Linked DNA regions of Homo sapiens: region 1 is linked to region 2. Evidence: promoter capture Hi-C in human tissues and cell types (Jung and others, 2019). All regions are on one chromosome and are shown on one strand. Each heading gives the region's core, a stretch centred on a gene start or on the middle of the fragment in contact. The rest is flanking DNA. Distances are from core to core; before and after follow the strand shown. Region 1 holds the start of CACNA1I (calcium voltage-gated channel subunit alpha1 I). Region 2 overlaps MRTFA (myocardin related transcription factor A).

The links. The method cuts DNA at HindIII sites, captures the fragments that hold promoters and counts their contacts. A contact is called where the count stands out against the background at its distance.
Region 1: a contact is called between the fragment with the promoter of CACNA1I here and a fragment that was not itself captured in region 2, in 1 of the 25 tissues and cell types used here (dorsolateral prefrontal cortex).

What each region holds. Positions count from the first base shown.
Region 1 is chr22:39,568,688-39,573,189 of GRCh38, forward strand. It overlaps CACNA1I (calcium voltage-gated channel subunit alpha1 I), which reads left to right and starts at 2,066. Exons shown (of 37, transcript NM_021096.4): 1 at 2,066-2,301. The coding sequence starts at 2,066. The HindIII fragment of the contact is 10,754 bases long and covers 1-4,245 here.
Region 2 is chr22:40,625,899-40,630,370 of GRCh38, forward strand. All of the region lies in intron 1 of MRTFA (myocardin related transcription factor A), which reads right to left. Among named protein-coding and RNA genes, the nearest start is that of MRTFA, 8.6 kb to the right of the region's middle. The HindIII fragment of the contact is 9,289 bases long and covers 1-4,472 here.

The sequences.
Region 1 (4,502 bases), core at 816-3,315, 1.1 Mb before region 2:
CCCTAGGGAGGGTGCGTTTCAGCCCAGGAGGTTGACACGTGGCAGGCCAAGGTGCCTGGGAGCTTATGTAAGGCCCGTGGCTGTTTTTCTGGAATCAAGAGCAAAGCCCTGAGCTCAGGAGAAAACTCCGCCTCCCTGACCAGCCAGGGGAAGTGGCAGGAGGTGCCAACCCCTGCCCGTTGCCCCCGGGAGCCAGAGAAATGTCCAAATGCATCAGCTCCGGGTGGCTTGGTCGACAGCCCAGCAGCAGCTGGGTGGGCACCAGGGACGTGGACCCCATCTCTCAATCCCACGGCTCAGACTGGCCCTGTAGGGGTTCTAGGATCCCAGGGACCCCAGTGGACAAAGTTTTAGGGACTAGTACCCTTTGGGGTGAGGTGGTGAGGGGCAGGCCCTGGGAGTGGCTGTCCGTCCCATCTTGCCATTGACTGGTTGCGGAGGCTCTCGGCCAGCGAGGGCACCATCAGTTGTCATGAAGCCCGCCTGGGGGTCTGGTGCTGGGATTCTGGCCTCTCAACACCACCTAGTGCTTCACTTGGCTGGGTGCATAGCCTTGACAACCCGCTTTGTTCTCTTGGCCTCAGTTTCTTCACCTGCCAAATGGGCATAATAGTCCTCCTGAGGTTGTTGTGAGCATCAGACAAGGCCAGGGAGTAGAAGTGCTTTGAGTTGGAGTCGGAGCCAGCAAGATGATTTGCATCACCTAGAACAAAATGAAAATGTGGGACCTCTTGATAAGCAATTAAGAATTTCATGTTGGTGACAGAAGAATTCTAAAGCAAGTTCAGGGCCCTTCTGAGCACGGGGCCCTGTGCAGCTGCCTGAGCCACAGACCCAGGAAGCGGGCTCTGACCGGAATTCTTTTTTTTTTTTTTTTTTGGTGACAGAGTCTTGCTCTGTTGCCCAGGCTGGAATGCAGTGGTGTGATCTTGGCTCACTGCAACCTCCACCTCCCGGGTTCAAGTGATTCTCATGCCTCAGCTTCCCGAGTAGCTGAGATTACAGCGTGTGCCACCACACCCAGCTAATTTTTGTATTTTTAGTACAGATGAGGTCTCACTATGTTGGCCAGGTTGGCCTCAAACTCCTGACCTCAGGTGATCCACCCACCTTGGCCTCCCAAAGTGCTGGGATTACAGGTGTGAGTCACGTGCCTGGCCTTTGACTGGAATTCTATTTCTGCTGTTACTCTGCTACATGTCTGTCCTGTCCCTTCTCTGGGCCTCGGTTTCTTCATCTGTAAGGCAAGGAGGTTAGACTCTAAGATTCCTGGGTTCTCAGCCTTGTAAGGCAGTGGCTGGGAGGTCCCTGGGTCAAGGGCTCAGCTGTAGGTCTCAGCTCAGGGGTTACTTCCTCAGGGAAGCCAACTGTGATTCCCTCCTGGCTTGCCAGCGTTCCCCCAGTCTCTGATTCTGCAGCACCCCAACATTGCCTTTGTAACCTGCATTGTCCTGGCAATAATGTCTGTCTTTACAATCACCTCTTTTTTCTTGCAAGTTTTCTTTACCTTTGATGGTGCAATAAATACATAGCTCTAGTCTTGTAAAAAAGTTAAGATCCCTTCCTTCCTTCCTTCCTTCCTTCCTTCCTTCCTTCCTTTCTTCCCTCCCTCCCTCCCTCTCTCCCTCTCTCCCTCCCTTCCGTCTTTCTTTTCTGTCTATAATTACTTAAACATTTTTTCTCTTAAATAATGAAAGATTTCAAATACAGAAAATTGCCAATAGACAAAAAAAAAAGAGTTAATATCACAATTATATTCTAAGAAGGCTTTATTCTCCCCACTATCTTCGTTTGCCAAAACTGAGGCTCAGCCAGGGTGAGCAGACTTGCCCCATGATCACCCAGCTTGGAAGCAGATTCCAAGTTGGGTGCAGCTGGGCCCTCAGCTGTTTCGTAATCCTCATGCAAGAGTGAGGGTGAGGGGCCTGTGGGGCTCAGGTGGGGCTGTCAGAGCTGCATCCGTCCACTTATTGGTGGAGAGGCAGGTTGGGGAGCATGTACCAGGCCTGTCCCCACCACGTGCCACCCTCTCTGTCTTCCCCAGGGCTCCCAGCTCAGTGTGGACATGGCTGAGAGCGCCTCCCCGCCCTCCTCATCTGCAGCAGCCCCAGCCGCTGAGCCAGGAGTCACCACGGAGCAGCCCGGACCCCGGAGCCCCCCATCCTCCCCGCCAGGCCTGGAGGAGCCTCTGGATGGAGCTGATCCTCATGTCCCACACCCAGACCTGGCGCCTATTGCCTTCTTCTGCCTGCGACAGACCACCAGCCCCCGGAACTGGTGCATCAAGATGGTGTGCAACCCATATCCTCCGCAGCCTCGGCTGATCGGGGCCCTGCAGGGGCTGAAGGGTGGGGGGCTGGATTGAGTCCTGCTGCTCACACCTTGCTCCGGCTGGGAGACCTGAGGTCTGCGGTGAGGCCACTGGGCCTTGGTGGTGGTGAGCGAGCTCAGAGGGTGGGTCTGGGGAGACCTCAAATGGATGAGGACCTGGTGTTCTGCTGATGTGAAGGTTCTGGAAGTTGCTGGTGGCTGTGGGGTCAGTCCAGTGGCTGGCTGGCTCAGAAAGTCCTTGAGTGTGGGCCCCAGACCTGTGCTGGGCTGGGAATGCAGATCAGTCAGACTCTGGAGCCACCTGATGGGCCGTGACCATACAGAGGATGGGAGCCGTGATCAGGAACTGTGGGCGTGGGCAGCGGGGCAGCCGATCCCAACACACAGGGCAGGACTCATTCTCCTTACTGTGCCTCCGAGCAGCCTCTTCCCAGGCCTCCTGCCTCCACTTGCTGCCTCCAGTGGGCTCATGTTCCCCCTGCTTAAGACTGTCATGATTTGCTATGGTCCTGGAGGTGCAGAGCAAAGTCCTAATCCAACCCATCAGGGCCTGTGTGTTCCACCCAGCCTCACTTCCCACCACTTGGCTTCCCCCCTGTGCTCTTCTGAGCCTCAGGGTCCTCTCACTGGCTCTTCCCCCTGTCTGAAAAGCTTTTCCCTTCCCCCTGGACCTGGCCAAATCCTTTGCTACATCCTTAAAATCCCAGCTTAAGCATCACCTCCTCAGGGAAGCCCTCTGGGATTCCTCCTCTGCTTCATATCTAACTGTCACATCTAACTGTGGAATTCTGAATCTAACATTTGCCTCCCCTGGGGTACTGTCAGATGACTGGGATGGGGACCCTAGCACCTGGCACAGTGCTTGGCACATCGTGGGTGCTCTGGCAGTGTTTGCTGGGTGTACATGGGCAATGCCAGAGCTGACTCCTCAATAAGGAAGAGCGTTGGTTGGGTAGAGAGGGTAGTGGGAGGCAGGAGGAGGGCATGGCAGGAGCGAAGCCTGGAGAAGGGAGGAGTTGCAGGCAGTGTTGGAGCCCTGAGGGGCAGAGAGGAGTGAGGTGAGGCTGCAGGTGTGGCGGGAGCCCTGCAGGGCCTTGGAGGCTGCATGAGGGATGGGACTGTGCTCCAAGGGCAGGATTTGAAGCAGGGTCTGGAGAGATCTGTGCTCTGGAAGGACTGTGTGGCACTGGCTTGCAGGGTGAAGTGGGGGCTGGGGACCACTGAGGAGGAGGCTTGGGGACCCAAGCCATGGTGGCCTTGTGGTTTGAGGGTCCCACCAAAAAATGCCCATATGTGGCTCGAGGTTCTGGTGCTTGTGGCCACACAGGGCAGGGTGCGGGGAGCTGGTGGGTCAGGTGCAGGCCTGAGTCCTGCCCTGGAATCCAGGGATGCCAGATGCAGGCTGGGATGTTGAGACTGGCTGCAGGACTGCCAGGCTTCCCTTCTGTAGGGGGCTGAGGTGATCGTGGGCCCTGGATCCCCCTAACTTTTGGAAACCAGCGGGTCTCTGCTGGAGTGGGATGCAGAACTGGGTGTTCCTTGCTGGGTGGGGGCTAAGAGCCTCCCTGCTCCTTCTGGGGGACGGCTCACAGCGTCTCAGGCTTGGTGAGAGGGTCTGCTCGGTAATTAGTTCACCCAGCACTCACTGACATCTGCCCTGGGACACTGAGGACAAAGAGGCAGAGCTGGTGTCTGTCCCAGGGAGTGCCCGGGGAAGAGGGAAGCAGGGACCACCCATTTGGCTAGTTTTTTTTTTTAGATGGAGTCTCGCTCTGTCACCCAGGCTGGAGTGCAGTGGCGCGATCTCGGCTCACTGCAACCTCCGCCTCCCAGGTTCAAGCAATTCTCCTGCCTCAGCCTCCCGAGTAGCTGGGACTACAGGCACCCACCGCCATGCCCTACTAATTTTTGTATTTTTAGTAGAGATGGGGTTTCACCATGTTGGTCAGGCTGGTCTCGAACTCCTGACTCGTGAACCGCCTGCCTCGGCCTCCCAAAGTGCTGGGATTACAGGTGTGAGCCACTGTGCCCAGCCTACGTGGCTAGTTTTAATACAAAGCACTGGGGAAACCTCAGGGGCTTGTGGCATGTGAACAGAGGAGTGCCAGGCCTGAGAAGGGGGCGGCCGCAGGAATTTTGGGCCTTTAGGAAGAGAAAGGCTGGTAGGAGGA
Region 2 (4,472 bases), core at 1,639-4,138:
AGTGAAAGGCTCTTGCATAGAAGCTTTAGTTCAAGTGATTTCTTCTCATAAAGATGATCACATAAACAATGGACAAAAAAGAAAATAACCCTTACTTTTTTTTTTGAAAGTGTCTCACTCTGTCCCCCAGGGTGGAGTGCAGTGGCATGATCTCAACTCACTGCAACCTCCACCTCCCCGGTTCAAGCAATTCTCTTGCCTCAGCCTCCCAAGTAGCTGGAATTACAGACCCCCACCACCACACCCGGCTGATTTTTTTGTATTTTTAGTAGAGATGGGGTTTCGCCATCTTGGCAGACTGGTCTCGAACTGCTGACCTCAGGTGATCCACCCACCTTGGCCTCCCAAAGTGCTGGGATTACAGGCATGGGCTACCATGCCTGTCCTAAGATTTACTCGTTTTTTTTGAGATGAGGTCTGGCTCTGTCACCCAGGCTGGAGTGCAGTGGCGCAACTACAGCTCACTGCAACCTTCACCTCCCAAGCTCAAGCAATTCTCTCCCACGCCTCAAGTTTCCAGAGTAGCTGGGATTATCGGTGCACAGCGCCGCGCCCGGTTATTTTTTGTATTTTTTGTAGAGACGGGGTTTTGCCATGTTATCTAGGCTGGTCTTGAACCTCTAAGCTCAAGCAATCCTCCCAAAGTACTGGAATTACAGGCGTGAGCCACCACGCCCAGCCAACCCTTACTTTTAATTTCTAAATTTCTCTTGCTCTACATTTTAAAGGAAAGACAATATATACACATATATATGGCAAACTCAAAAAGACTACTTTAAATATATCCATCATATAACTAAATACGAAACACAAAGCCAGGGCCAGGCATAGTGGCTCATGCCTGTAGTCCCAACACTTTGAGAGTTCAAGGCGGGAGAACTGCTTGAGGCCAGGGGTTCAAGGTTACAGTGAGCTACGATCGTGCCACTGCGATCCAGCCTGTGTATCAGAATGAGACCCTGTCTCAAACACACACACACACACACACACACACACACACACTAACTAAAGCCAAAGTTTCAACCATGATAACACCACTCTAACACCAAAATTCAACACAGTGCATTCTAAAATATTAGGAAAGGACAACTTTCCAAGTTCCTGTAAATTTTGTGGTAGAGAAAATATGTACAAATTAACCACAATCAAGAGACCCTGGATCACTTACCCCATTTACAATTTAAAAGATACTGAAACACTGACAAAAAAAAAAATTCTAAAAATGTGGATATTACAGTATGCCTTTATTTGGTAATTTTTTTGTTTCTGAGACAGTCTCACTCTGTTGCCCAGGCTGGAGTGCAGTGGCACAAACACAGCTCACTGCAGCCTCGATCTCCCGGGCTCATGCACTACAAGTGCATGTCACCATGCTGAGCTACTTTTTTTACTTCTTGTAGACACACGGTCTTGTCATGTTGCCCAGGCTGGTCTTGAACTCCTGGGCTCAAGTGATCCTCCCACCTTGTCCTCCCAAAGTGCTGGGATTACAGGTGTAAGCCATAATGCCTGGCCCTTATTTGGCAAGTATTAATTGAGCAACTTAAGATGTGAGGTTACTATTATAGTTTTCCACCTCAGGAATGGCAACCAGATACATATAATGAATACCGCACAGAATATTTTCTGAGCTATAACATCTTGATTACTACTACAAAGAGTTCTCACTATAACTGACATTTTCGCTAACTATGCAAAAGACACTGAACACGAAAAGACATTTACTAGAGGCAAAGTTAGGAACTTCATATACATCATGGTAGGAAGCCAGAATTATTTAATTCAAAAACAGATCTGGATTCAAATCCTGGCCAGGCACAGCGGCTCATGCCTGTCATCTCAACAGTTTAGGAGGTCAAAGCGTGAGGGCAAGAGTTCAAGATCAGCCTGGGGAACACTGTGACACCCCGCCTGCACAAAAAAATTTAGCCGGGCATGATGGCACACGCCTATAGTCCTAGTTATGCAGGAGAACTGCTTCAGCAGTTTGAGGTTACAGGAGTTTGAGGACACAGTGAGCTATGACCCTGCCACTACACTCATGTCTGGAAGACAAAGCAAGACTCTGTCTAAAAAAAACAAAAAAGCAAAACAACAACAAAAATCCTGTTATCTAGAAGTTCCTCTAGAAGCTTCTCTTTGCTCATCTGCAAAATGCTGCTACTACCACTTATTTCAGAGTTCATATGAGGATTAATAAGGTAGCACAATGTCTACTATAAAGTAGATGCCCCTATTACTTCCCTCTTTACATTTCTTCATAATCCTTATAACGACCTCATGTTGTAAGGATTATTAACTCTAGTTTACAGATGAAGAAGCTGAATCACAGGAAGGTTAAGGAGTAAGCCTACAGTCACATACCTGGTAACTGTCAGTACCCAGATCTGCTGTGCCCTAAAACTTGACATGGACATGTTACCTCACTGGATATTTTACTCTGTCATATTATGAAGTTCAGAACTTTGTTTGAATTATGCCCATTATGCTTTAAATTTTAATACAAGAACAATTATTTTCAAAAACCAGAATCACCCATAATTTCCACTCATAATTTTAGAGGACAAAGACCTGTAAATAGCCTACCTATCTAGAAATTCAGTAACAGAGGACACACTCCAGATCTCAAAATGAACTAGCCAAATTACTCATTACAAGCTCTCATTTACACAGAGAATGATTTCTAAATGCATATCAATAAGAATGAGTGGGGAGCAAATGAACCAAACATACCACAGAAGTAAAAATGTGGAAGTAAAAAAAAAAAAAGACATTTTCACAACGCTCTTTCTTCCAAGGATTCTACAGATCTTCTATTACTGCTATATGAGCCGGCCTTAAATACTGTGTGAGGAACTGGCCTGGGCTCAGCCCCTGGACTGTTGTGGAACTCAAATCATTTAATTTCACAGTGCCTCCTCCCACTAAACAATGAGAGAACTGGACTTGAGTCATGAACCACAGAACTGAAGGCAACTTGAGCAATTAGTTCCACCCAATGCACCCTGACAGGTCACCCAATTTCTGCTTTAACACCTGCAGTGACACAGAGTGTAATTATCTTCTCTCCTCATACATGTGATATGGATTCAGTATTTTTAAGAATTTTGGCCAGGCACGGTGGCTCACACCTGTAATCCCAACACTTCGGGAGGCCAAGGCAGGAGGATTGCTGTGGCCAGGAATTTGAGACTAGTCTAGGCAATATAGCAAGACTCTCTTCTCTTCTCTACAAAAAAAATTTTTTAAATTAGCCAAGCAGAGGCTGGGCGCGGTGGCTCACATGTGTAATCCCAGCACTTTGGGAGGCCGAGGCGGGCGGATCACTTGAAGTCAGGAGTTTGAGACCAGCCTGTCCAATATGGTGAAACCCCGTCTCTACCAAAAATACAAAAAAATTAGCCGGGCATGGTGGCACATGCCTGTAGTCCCAGCTACCTGGGAGGCTGAGGCAGGAGAATGGCTTGAACCCGGGAGACGGAGGTTGCAGTGAGCCAAGATCGAACCACTGCACTCCAGCCTGGTCAACAGAGCAAGACTCCGTCTCAAAACATAATTAAAAAAAAAAAAATTACCCAAGCAGGCCAGGCACAGTGGCTCACGCTGTAATCCCAATACTTTGGGAGGCCGAGGCGGATGGATCGCCTGAGGTCAGGAGTTCGAGATCAGCCTGGCCAACATAGTGAAACTCCGTCCCTACTAAAAAAAATATATACATATACAAAAAATTAGCTGGGCGTGGTGGTGGGTGCCTATAATCCCAGCTACTCGGGAGGCTAAGGCAGGAGAATTGCTTGAACCCAGGATGCGGAGCTTGCAGTGAGCCGAGATCCCGCCACTGCACTCCAGCCTGGGTGACAGAGCAAGATTCCATCTCAAAAAAAAAAAAAAAAAAAAAAAAATTAGCCAAGCATGGTGGTACATGCTGTTGTCCTAGCTACTCAGGAGGCAGAGGCAGAAGGATCACTTAAGACAAGGAGTTTTGAGGTTGCAGTGAGCTATGATCCCACCATATGCTTCACAAGAGCTTAGAGGTGGAACTAGGGCCCACACTAATACCTAGAATGAGAACCTGTGTGGCTGAGTTTGAGGGACAAGGTTAATCTGGAGGGCATTTAAAAGGTACAGGACTGGCCAAGCACGGTGGCTCATGCTTATCATCCTAGCGCTTTGGGAGGCCAAGGCAGGCGGATCACCTGAGGTCAGGAGTTTGAGACCAGCCTGGCCAACATATAGTGAAACCCTGCCTCTACTAAAAAATACAAAAATTAGCTGGGCATGGTGGCACATACCTGTAATCCCAGCTACTTGGGAAGCTGAGGCAGGAGAATCGCTTGAACCTGGGAGGCGGCAGTTGCAGTGAGCCATGATCACACCACTGTGCTCTACCCTAGGCAAGAGAACGAGACTCTGTCTCTCAAAAAATAAAAATAAAAAAATAAAAGGTACAGGCCTGGGTGTGGTAGCTGGAT